Linked DNA regions of Homo sapiens: regions 1, 2 and 4 are each linked to region 3. The links are contacts of gene promoters, found by promoter capture Hi-C in blood cells and fetal thymus (Javierre and others, 2016). All regions are on one chromosome and are shown on one strand. The core of a region is centred on a gene start or on the middle of the fragment in contact, and the rest is flanking DNA. Distances in the headings are between cores, read along the strand shown. Region 1 holds the start of PRDM10 (PR/SET domain 10). Region 2 holds the start of LPXN (leupaxin). Region 3 holds the start of PCF11 (PCF11 cleavage and polyadenylation factor subunit). Region 4 holds the start of C11orf58 (chromosome 11 open reading frame 58).

What was found. Contacts are between HindIII fragments. The CHiCAGO score rates a contact against its expected background, and 5 or more counts as called.
Region 1: a contact is called between the fragment with the promoter of PRDM10 here and the fragment with the promoter of PCF11 in region 3, in 2 of 17 cell types (fetal thymus and total CD8 T cells). The highest score is 30.4, in fetal thymus.
Region 2: a fragment that was not itself captured here is called in contact with the fragment with the promoter of PCF11 in region 3 in 3 of 17 cell types (total CD8 T cells, fetal thymus and activated CD4 T cells); the score reaches 10.7 in total CD8 T cells.
Region 4: a contact is called between the fragment with the promoter of C11orf58 here and the fragment with the promoter of PCF11 in region 3, in 1 of 17 cell types (naive CD8 T cells). The highest score is 5.2, in naive CD8 T cells.

Annotation. Positions count from the first base shown.
Region 1 is chr11:130,001,571-130,004,270 of GRCh38, forward strand. PRDM10 (PR/SET domain 10) reads right to left here and starts at 1,265. Exons shown (of 21, transcript NM_199437.2): 1 at 1,152-1,265. PRDM10-DT (PRDM10 divergent transcript) reads left to right here and starts at 1,054. Exons shown (of 1, transcript NR_024233.1): 1 at 1,054-2,700. RefSeq lists silencers at 299-478, 509-558, 569-888, 1,599-1,988 and an enhancer at 1,399-1,488. The HindIII fragment of the contact is 10,759 bases long and covers 1-1,650 here.
Region 2 is chr11:58,574,727-58,577,426 of GRCh38, forward strand. LPXN (leupaxin) reads right to left here and starts at 1,130. Exons shown (of 9, transcript NM_004811.3): 1 at 1,034-1,130. The coding sequence starts at 1,046. RefSeq lists enhancers at 1,003-1,062, 1,073-1,122. The HindIII fragment of the contact is 1,747 bases long and covers 480-2,226 here.
Region 3 is chr11:83,155,818-83,158,517 of GRCh38, forward strand. It overlaps PCF11 (PCF11 cleavage and polyadenylation factor subunit), which reads left to right and starts at 1,314. Exons shown (of 16, transcript NM_001346413.3): 1 at 1,314-1,814. The coding sequence starts at 1,623. RefSeq lists silencers at 890-969, 2,420-2,479 and enhancers at 1,170-1,219, 1,284-2,073, 1,370-1,619. The HindIII fragment of the contact is 1,033 bases long and covers 364-1,396 here.
Region 4 is chr11:16,737,320-16,740,019 of GRCh38, forward strand. It overlaps C11orf58 (chromosome 11 open reading frame 58), which reads left to right and starts at 1,328. Exons shown (of 5, transcript NM_014267.6): 1 at 1,328-1,522. The coding sequence starts at 1,460. It also overlaps a transcript of SOX6 not described here. RefSeq lists an enhancer at 1,202-1,831. The HindIII fragment of the contact is 4,072 bases long and covers 237-2,700 here.

The DNA of each region.
Region 1 (2,700 bases), core at 15-2,514, about 47 Mb after region 3:
AAGTGTACACGCACATTGATTGAAAATGCACTAAAATCCAACTCATCCACCAAGCAAGGCTAAAGGCGCGCACACAAATTCAACAGCGCTGCGTTCGCGTGGCTGGAGGGCAGACGGGGAATATTCCATTTTACTTAGTAGAGTATCAACACCTAGCTGCAGGGTTAAACCTGCTTAACAAAAGCTGGCGAGGGGCTGGAGAGGTGCACACCATCAGCCCTCTCCCGAGCGCCGACCGGCCTCGCCCTGCCTCTGCGCTGCACCCTGGGTGCAGGCGGACTGGGGCAGGGCCGCGACCCCGGCCTCGGCCTCCGCCTCCGCCCGGCCAGCCCCGACGCGGTGCCACGGGACAGACCCGCAGGGGCCACCCCACACCCCTGCGGGCCGGCCCCCCGCCCCGGTCCCGGACGCTAGCTTGGGAAGGCAGGCCGGGGGCCCAGCCATCGATGGCAAGTGGGCGGCGCGGCCTCCGCAGACAAAGCTGGGCGCCCCATCGAACAGGACCCTCCGCCCCACGCGCCCGCAACCGGCCAGCCCCGGAGCCCTGCCCGCACTGCCACCCCCAGCCCGGCGCCCGGCCCCCAGCCCCCGGTGCTCGGCTCCCGGCCGGCGGAGACCTGCCCGCCGCGCCCGGAGCGCCCGCGCAACCGCCGCCGCCGGAGCGCGCAGGCCGCCCAACCGCCGTCCCGGCCCAACCAACGCGGGCAGGGGAGGAGAGGTGCGCGCGGCCGGCGGAGCGTGCGAGCCACTCGGGGGTCGCAGGGGGAGGCTGCGCGCGGCGAAGGCAGGGGCGACGAGACGCCGAGGCCGGCGCTGAACGCGGCGCCAGGAGGGCCTGCTGGAGGGGGCCTTGCCCTCTTCCCCTTGGAAGGTGCAGATGGTTTGACCCCCCACCCCGAGTGAGGTGCCTCGTCCCAGCCCCGGCTGGACTGTACCATCGGGCGGTGCCGCCGGGATTTCTCCCCCCCACCACCACCATCAATTCCCCCCCCACCCGGGTCCGCGGTCGGTTGGCCCCGGCCGGGCTCTGAGACGCGGAAAGAGCTGGGCGCCATTTTGGGTGGGACTAAGCAAAGACGAAACACCCTCCCAGTCTATGGGGTAGTCTGGACCCTGGCTTATCTGGTTCCCTTAATCCTTTAGGTACTTACACGACGTTGGGTGAGGGGAGCTGGAAGATCAGCGGGTCCCCGATCCTCTCTCCCTAGGGGTGATAGAAATCAACCCCCCCCGCCACCTCCAGGTGGTTCTTCCCGCCGCAGAGTGGGAGCAGCATAAAAGGCGGGGTCTTATTAGCATAATCTGCCTGGCAACCTGATCTCGACGTTATATGATTGGTTAAACTCTGTAAGCCCCATGCCGTGCCTAGAGACGAGAAACGCTGGGGCGAACTGACAGGCCCAGATTTAGGAGTCATGACGAAGATCCTGAGACGCTTATTCAGTCTGCAGAGAAGCCAAAAGGAGATTCACATAATGGCCCAATGACTGAAGGCCTCTTTATTTCGTGCTCTGCTGTTCGTGTAAAACCCAATCGCAGAGCGGGTCTCAGGCGGCGCTCGCCTGCGTTTCTACTCTCAGCCAATCAGAAAACCCGACTCTTCGCATTGGGGTCAAGCCCCCGCTGCGGCCCGCGTGCTAACGGGGAGGAAGCTTCCAGCTGTGCCTGGGTGTCTCGGGCGCCGAGGGCAGCCTGCGCCCGTGCTAAGCCCGCCTCCCGCGCGCCCGAGGGCCCGGTGTCCCGGAAGACGCGCGGGGGTGAGGCGGCCCTCGCGTCCGCCCGCCCCGCCACAGATTGCCTCCGAAGTGGCCTGGCCGTGGAGCGCCGGCGAAAACCGAACTCCCGCCCGGCTCCCGGAGTCGGGAGCCTGCCGGGGTCTCGCCCTCAGGACCCCCAGGGAGCGGCCGGGCGCCGCCTATCACCCTGACCCACCGCACCTTGAGAGCGCTTTCACTGCGCCTCTTTTTTCTCCTCTACCAATCTGGAAAGGAAGTGAGTGTCATTTCAGACATTGAGAAACATTATTCAACACTGGTTACCCAGTGACTCAGCTCACTCCTTAACCGCAGGCTTCCACATCCTGCTGTCCCTTAAAATTGCCTTCACAAAGGGCAGCCAAGAGCCCAGCTTTGGAGAGATACCCAGCTCCAACTACCCACTGGCAGGCAATACGCAGGGCAGCTAGATGGCAGAGAGACCTTGGACCTTCGGACCTTCGGGGAGCGGTTTTCCCTTCGGTGATATCTACCTTGCTATGTTCGTGATATCTACCTTGCTACGTTATTTTGAAGATTAAGTGAGCTCTTACTTTACCGAGTAAAGTGCTTTGCTTAGCACACTGTCTGGAACTTAAATGAGAAGTACTGACAATATAACTTACAAAAATCCTAAACTATTGCCTGAGAAAAAGAGGGAGACAGGACAGCTAAGCAAAAGACGAGAATAGAAAACACCCACAGCGTGAAAAACTGTAAAATTAACTCAATAGTATTCTCTTTACTGTTTTTTGTTTTGTTTTGTTGTTTTGTTTTTTGATACGGAGTCTCGCTCTGTTGCCCAGGCTGGAGTGCAGTGGTGAGATCTGGGCTCATTGCAACCTCTGCCTCCCGGGTTCAAGCGATTCTCCTGCCTCAGCCTCTCTAGTAGCTGAGATTACAGGCATGCACCACCACGCCCGGCTAATTTTTGTATTTTCAGTAG
Region 2 (2,700 bases), core at 103-2,602, about 25 Mb before region 3:
CAAAGCAGTTTGATATTTATTAAACACTACCTTTTTCTCTTCATTAACATCTCTTGCCTCCTGGTAATTTGCCCTTTACTTTTCCTCTGTTTCTCCAGCTTTGAAATCACACGCCATTTTTTTTAAGACAATGTAACAATGTGCAAGATATTTTTTGTTGTTGTTTTTTGCACTTTTGACATACCCTATCCCCAAACACACCCCAAACCAGGACACTGTGGAATTAATACAGTTTGGAAATTGGGTATAGTTTAGTGACTCAGTGTTAGTTAAGATGCTGGCAACAGATGTTGGCAAAGGCTATGGAATGAGTCCCAAGAATGACAAACCTTACATTACTCCAAAGGTTTGAAATCCAGGATTTCTCTGGTTAATATGGTTAATAGTTCCACTGCTGGTTTTAATTGTCTTAGAGTGGAAGGAGGTGTCATATTTTCAGGCCCTAGTAATCTCTTCCTTCAGAATTCTTCTGAATAAAAAGCTTAGCAACAAAATCACTAGAGTTAGAGTGCTATGCCTTCTTGATTTAATACTAAAACATGGAACAAATGAAACCACTCTGGCCTTTTTCCAACCTCTACAGATCCCTCATTCTTATACTTCTAGTCCGTCTTTTCTTCCTCATAACACCCCAATTCCCTTTTTGCTCTTTCTTTTCCTCCTCAAATCATATCTCTGCATTGTCTCGCTATGTGGCCACCCTTGATCTCCAGTGACCTCCAAAGGGCAAAACGCCCATAACAAGACAACAACTGCAGTAACAATCCAGTCCAAAAGTATTTGCCAAGAGTTTATTCCGCGGTTAGCACCAAACTCTCCATCTATTTTGCCACTGCAAACAGTGAACCCATAGTTCCCCAAAACAATCATAGTTCCTCATGCTTCACTCTTGGCAGGGCTGAGGACAGGAAAGAAGTGAAAATAAAATCTTCCATTACTACCCTCAGTCTAGCCAGAAGTATACCCCACCACACAAGGAGATGGCAGCCAAGTCTTCACTCCCTCAGAGTTTCTCCTCAGGCTCCTCACTCACCTAACTCTTCCATTGTCCTACATCCAAGATGCTCTTGTCTCACAGGCCGTGAGGAACAGCTTTGGCATGTGCTGAAGAAGAGGACCGCAAAGGAACTGGATGAGACAGCATAAGGCAGCCTCTATAAACCTTTTTGGTTCCTGTATTTGCTTAGCACTTCCTCTCTTTTGATTTGGTGAGCTTTTTTTTTTTTTTCATAGGTTACACAGTTTTAAAAATGTGACTGACATAGAAAGGTAGATAGTAAGATTTGCATTATGGCAGTGCATTGGCCAGGGTGATAAAGATTCAAAATTAATTTTGCAAAATTTGAGGACCTACTCTGTGCCAGGATTCATCTTGGATTCATGGGAATGGCAGACTTATACTTGCGTTTTTTCCAAGTGTAGGTACCCCACTCTGAGCATCTTTCTTTTTTCTTTTTTTTTTTTCTGTGAAGCTGGGAGACACAGAGGCATAGTCTCCTTCTTAAAATTTGCATCAGAGTTGACCAGCATCCATTTCATTTTGTTGTCTTATTTATTCAGAAATTATGGTTATCTGCTTTCCTGCATGGAACGTAAATCCTTAAAAGTAGGGCAGAAGTGGATTCATGCTTGGATTCTCAGGGCCTGGTTTACTCAGTGGTCCCAAAAGCAAACATCTATAGGGTGGTCACAAAGAAGGAAGCCAGGTTTGACACCAGATGTTAAACTGTGTGCATCTCAATTAAGCATAATCCCTGCCTAGATACACTGCCTTATAGCAATTTCTTTGGAAAGTAACACTGAGGTTAACTCTTCACCTTTTTTACCACTGTGATTTATTCACCTTGAATTAAACATTTACAAAAGGCCTACTATAAAAAAGCAATACGTAAGGAACTATAATTATGGCCCTGTGAAATAGATTTTTTCCCCCTTTTTACCAATGGTGAAATAGGTTCATGTAATAGCAACTTGCTAAGATAATTAATTGGTAGCTTTGCTACTTACTATAATTGCAAAGTCTGGGATCTTTCCTCTACAACACCGTAGCCTTCTTTACTTTTTTTAAGACAAGCTCTCTGTCACCCAGGCTGGCGTGCAAAGGTACTATCATAGTTCAGTGTAACCTCCAACTCGAACTCCTGAACTCAAGCGATTTGCCCTTCTCAGCTTCTGGAGTAGCTGGGACCAGAGGTGCATCCCATCACGCCACCAGGTTAGCTTAAAAGCTTTATTTTTATTTTTTATGTAGAGGGTGGTCTCCCTATGTTGCCCAGGCTGGTCTGGAAGTTCTGGGCTCAAGGGATCCTCCCACTTTGGCATCCAAAAGCGCTGGGATTCCGGGGGTGAGCTACCACATCCAGCCCACAGTGGCTTTTTTTTTTTAGGGAATAATTCATTCTCCATTCCACTGTCTGTACATTTTTTTTTGAAAGGAGATTCCTCCTCTGTATTACTTTGAGCATCCATTGGATGTCAGCACTGTTCCTTCCAAAAGTCTGCTCACTACAAACTCAATCTTAAAAAATTTCCATTGACACTATGCCAATCGATTATTACAACTGAAAATGACATTAGCCCTATGAAAATGGAAAATACTCAGTAGAGAATATAAAACATTTGTCTAATATGAAGTGGTATCTGAGTCAAAGTACTGGAAGGAAAAATGTACTTCAGCACTTGTCTACAGTTTAACTGAAT
Region 3 (2,700 bases), core at 64-2,563:
CCTGGAGTACAGTGGCGTGATCTCGGCTCACTGCAACCTCCACCTCCCGGGTTCAAGCGGTTCTCCTGCCTCTGCCTCCCGAGTAGCTGGGACTACTATAGGCGCACGCCACCACGCCCAGCTAATTTTTGTATTTTTAGTAGAGACGGGGTTTCACCATGTTGGCCAGGGTGGTCTCGATCTCTTGATCTCGTGATCCGCCCGCCTCGGCCTCCCAAAGTGCTGGGATTACAGGCGTGAGCCACCGCGCCCAGCCCGTAATTGACACATTTTAAAAGCTTATATTTAGGTCAATATCGCTACTCAATGAAAAAATTACGTTTGGTTTGTGTTATGTCGCAGCTCCACGGTGAACTATTTGAAAGCTTTGTGTGTTTTACGAGCATCATTTCCAACCTGGGAAGACAGCCCCACAAGTTTAAAACAAAAGTGCATGCGCGTGTGTGTTTTCCTACGTGCCCCAAATAGTGTATGCTAAGGAGGTTCTGAAATGCAGATTCACAGTGGAGATATTACGGTCCAGCTGGGTGTGGCTGTTGTGAAAAACTCTTCCTAGAGCTCATAGTGGGCTCCTTAAAGAGCTCCTCCAAACCCCCAAGGAAAAAGCCTTTCACACTTAATCTCTAAATAAAAGGCATTTTCCTGGGGATTCAAGTCAGGCAAGCTCGCCTAGGTATTTTTGTGGGTGTGGGAAGCGGCGTGCTGGAAGAAACTCTCCAGCAGTGCTTTCCGAAGTTCCGGGTAAATTGGGCACCTCCCTCCCACTTCCCAGTTCCCAGAGGGGCAGCTGGACCCGCCCTGGCTCTCCAGAGCACCTGAGACGCTAAGGGAGAGGGGGTGCGGCGGCAGAAAGCCTCCGCTCCCTCCAACCCCCGCTCCCTCCAACCCCCACCGTCGGTAGCAGCTACGGGGCAGGCGGGAGGAAAGATGATTGACAGGCCCGCTCAGTGGCTGGGAAGCTAGAGGGAGGGACGAAGAGGGGACGGCTGAGTCTTCTTCTCAAAGTGGTTGGGTTGGGCCGCGGGAACTGCCTTCCCAGGCCTATTGGCTTCCCTGAATGGGTTGTTATGGTAACAAATGACCGAACAGTCCCTTATGAATCGGCCAATGAGAAGGGCCGTCTTTTCCAGTGCGCCTCCGAGCAGTAGATGTTGCGAAAGTCCGGGTAGAGGCCGGAGAAGAAGGCGGTGCCAGGGCGTCCTGCGGAAGGGCCGGGGGCGGGGCTCGTGACGTTGCCGGGACAGCCAATCACGCCTGGTTTTATCAGTGGCCCCGCCCTTTTACCGCACATTTCCCCTCCCCTAGTTCATTTCGCACGACGCAGCGGTTGGGAACACAGACATTTTCGGAGCTGGAGCCGCCACTGCCGCCGCCATTTTGTGTCTGTGGAGAAAGAAGCTTCTGTGGCGGCTGGAAGTGGACGGAGATCACCCGCGAGACGGCGGCGTTTCATACCCGAGGTTCCCCCTGTGTCGTCCCCCATCCCCCCTCCGCGGTCAGCATGTGGTGAAGCCGGAGCCGCGAGAGAGCCGGGGAGAGGAAGAGGAGTCGGAAGGGAGGCGGGGTATCCAGAGCGGCTTCAGCTTCAGCTGCAGCGGACCTCGGAGGGGGGCCGCGGCGCAATGTCAGAGCAGACGCCGGCCGAGGCCGGTGCTGCGGGGGCCCGGGAGGACGCCTGTCGGGATTATCAGTCATCGCTCGAAGACCTGACCTTCAATAGCAAGCCGCACATCAATATGCTGACCATTCTAGCCGAGGAGAACCTGCCCTTCGCCAAGGAGATCGTCTCTCTCATCGAGGCCCAAACCGCCAAGGTTTTTATACACCCCGCAGCCTCCTATTACTTCTAATACTCCCTGATTTTAGTGTCAGCCTCATCCCAGGTCTCGCTTCCATCCCAAGGGGGACAGTGTTCCTTCTCTCCAACCCCCCCACCCCCCTCCAACTCAGGCTCGGTCTTTGGCCCAGGCTTCGAGCATGGGCCTCTGGGGGGGAGGGAGTGGGGAGGATAAAGGGTGGAGTCCCACTTCCGCTTTCCAACTCCCTTTTTAGGCCACCGCATTGTATATCCCGACACACACACGCTTTGAATAGAGCCCTTTGGGGTGGGGGAGACTTAAAGGCAGTTTGTGGTTTGGGGAAGTAAGAGTTAACATAAGCCATTTTAATTCCCTGGGAAGTGGGAGAGTGGGTCTCCCATTTTCCCCAAGCACCCTTTTTGGTAATTGTGTTCTGTGGGTTGGAAGGAGGTGAAGGGGGACCTGGGAGCGAGCTGTTGGTGGGTGGGAATAGGGATTTGGCCCCGAGTGGAGCAGCCGCCTGTTAGGAGCCCAACATGGCGCCTGAAAAGCACATGATGCGAAAGGGAAGAGAGGAGAATCCATTCCCTGCCAGCCAGGCAGCTGCTCACTCCCGTCAGCCCCATTTTGGGGTGGGGGCGGCTAGATAAAACTTTTATTCTCCTATTGGAGGGTCTAATTTGTCCCAAAATAGGGGCAAGTGGGGTTGAGGGTGGGGTTTGGGTGGGGGGAGGAGATCTTATCCAACCTGTAGGTGGAGAACTGGCCCAGAGGGTAACAAGTACTTGCAGTTTCTCTGAAAAGTTCAGTCCCTCCTCCTCTTCCTTTTCTCTTTTTCTCCCTTCCCTGATAGCGAAGGAGTGTTTTTCTTTACCCCTTGACAGAAGTGGTCCTCTGCCAC
Region 4 (2,700 bases), core at 78-2,577, about 66 Mb before region 3:
CCTCAGCCTCCCGAGTAGCTGGGATTAGAGGCATGTGCCATCATGCCAGGCTAATTTTTGTATTTTTAGTAGAGACGTGGTTTCACCATGTTGATCAGGCTGGTCTCGAACTCCTGACCTCGTGATCCACCCGCCTCAGCCTCCCAAAATGCTGGGGATTACAGGCCTGAGCCATGGCGCCAGGCCTAATTTTTGCTTAAAAAAAAAAAAAATCACATTTGTATTCAAGGTGAGAAAGCTTCAGAATTATTAAGGACAAGGATTCTGACAGAAAGTTAAGTTCAGACCTGGTTACAAATTCAGACACCTTAATAAAGTAGGAGATAGTCTTCAGTATCTGAACAATAAATAGCTTTAAATGCAGGGCTTTTTGAGTAGAGGAGTGATCACTTGAATCTGGAGAGAGGGCGAGAAATGGGGAGGGATTGCTAACGGGCATTGGGGTTCCTTTTGGAGTGGTGAAACTTCTTGGAATCAGAGGTGACAGCTGCACACGATTGTGAATGTACTAAGTGACAGTGGATTGTACACTTTTTAAAAAATGGTTAATTTTATATGTGAATTTAACCTCAATAATTACTTTTTTTAAAAAAGAAAAAAAATAGAGGCTTTTGTGGCAGGGATGGACTTTGCTTGGTGAAGGCCCCTACTGTAACGGTGCCCAGACATCCACAGCGAGGTCAGTGAGGAGCACTCCCACCTCACACAAAGCCATATGAAAACTTAACAGATTTCCCTCAGCTAAATCCCCGTTTTCAACAACCGCCAATTAGCCAACATTTAACAACATACTGAACTCATTTCTGTATGGGAAAACAGCGAAATATTCATGAAAACATTTAGAAAGCAGCATCACCGACCACCTAGAAATCCCCTGCGCGCAATAGAGAACACCAGGGTGGAAATGGTAGAAGCCATTTTTGGTTAAGGTTTTTGTCCTGGGTGGAGGGTATTCGTGAGGATTCAGTCAGCCTCAAACATTACATTTAAACATAGGTGCCTAGCTACGATGATACATTTGCCAGTAGGGCAGCGTTGCACGGTGAAAGGCAAAAACCCCTCTAAGCCTCCTCCTGTGGCGACAAAGCTCTCGGCCAACGCTCACCGCCATACACATCCGCGGGAACGCTTCCTCCACCAGCCGAAGGCGGGGCCTCTGAGGGCACTCCCGCCACACAGCGCGAATTGAGCCTCGGGGCTTCCTGGGAATTGTAGTTTTAGTCACGGACACATCTTTTTTATTCGGGCCAGTATGCAATGAATCAGAAAACTACAACTCCCAAAGTGCCCCGGGGCGGCGAGGGGCCGCAACGGTGACGACTGTGGCAGAGAAGGCCCGGAGGGGCTCTGCGTTCTGTAGTGGCGCTGCTTGGGCCCTTGGCGGATTGTAAGCTGCTGGTTTTGCGGCTGGGAAGAGCGGCGAGAGGGTTCGGCATTTTTCGTCGGGATCCCCGCAAGGATGAGTGCTGCCAGAGAGTCTCACCCGCATGGGGTGAAGCGTTCAGCCTCCCCAGACGACGATGTAAATAATAATGGCGGAGTGGCTGAGGGTTGAGGCCTACTAAAGCCTGGAGTAGGCCGGGAAGGGTGGTTGGAGGAGGACGCGCCTGAGGTGGCCTGCAGCGGGAGAGCCCAGGGAAGAAACCAGAAGAATGAGTGGGAAATGCCTCCCTTAATCTTTATGAGGGTCAGAAGGTTTGAAGAGGCCCACACGCTGAGAGCCGGAGACCTGCGTAGGAAGGGGGATTGAGGAAGGAAATTCTGAGAGGGTCGAGGAGTGAAAGAGCTTAGTCAAGGGATTTCGTACGTGCGTTTTGGGGGGCCGATGAGAGTGCTTTCTCGGGCCTTTGTACTCAGTATAGAGACGGCAAGACTCTCCCTGTTTTGGGTTCTAAATGTTCCCGTGACAATGTCGAAATGTTCGTGCACGTTTGTACAGATTTTTCCTGCCTGGATGATTTTTACAATGTGCTGTTGAGAGTTAACTTTAGCTGCACTAGTAAGGGTAAACCGAGAACAGTATTGAGCCGAAAATTGTGCCACGGGTGTAATTTGGTACTGGCTCTGGTGGTGAGGTCTAAGACGTTGAGACCTAGAAGCCCATTTTGATGTCGGATATTAATACCTCGTTCTTCTTACCTCGTCTCCCCATCAAATGCCGTTCCCTTCCTCAGCCCTCACCTCATAGGTTTTAATAGCAAACGGTTTATCCCTTAAAGTAACCCGTTAAATATTTACTGCACTGCCGGGTGTTGGGAATTCGGAGAGAAATATGATGCTTATTTTAGGCCTTTTTGTATATTTGTCCTAGCTCCTAGCCCAGTGTCATGGAAACGGTAGGTAACCAGTAAACGTAAAACTAGGTCCTTCATACAATGGATAAGTGTCTTGGCAACGTTGATGGGGAAAATTGTTGGAGAGAGCGCGGAGAGGTCATCTTTAAGGAAGATGAAGGGATATCTAGGTTTTTTTTCGGTTTTGTTTAAAGTACTGTCAATTTCTGAATACATAGAGCTTTAAATTTTTCGATAGTGCATTTCAACGCTCTTCATAAAATTTTAAAAGCCCACTGAATACTACTTTGTAGCAAATGAGATAATGTTAAGACCTACCCCTCTGATGGGAGGTGGGGCGAGGACCGGAATATTAAGGATCTTTAAAGGAATCGACTTCAGCTCTGCAGAAAGATTAGCAATCAGT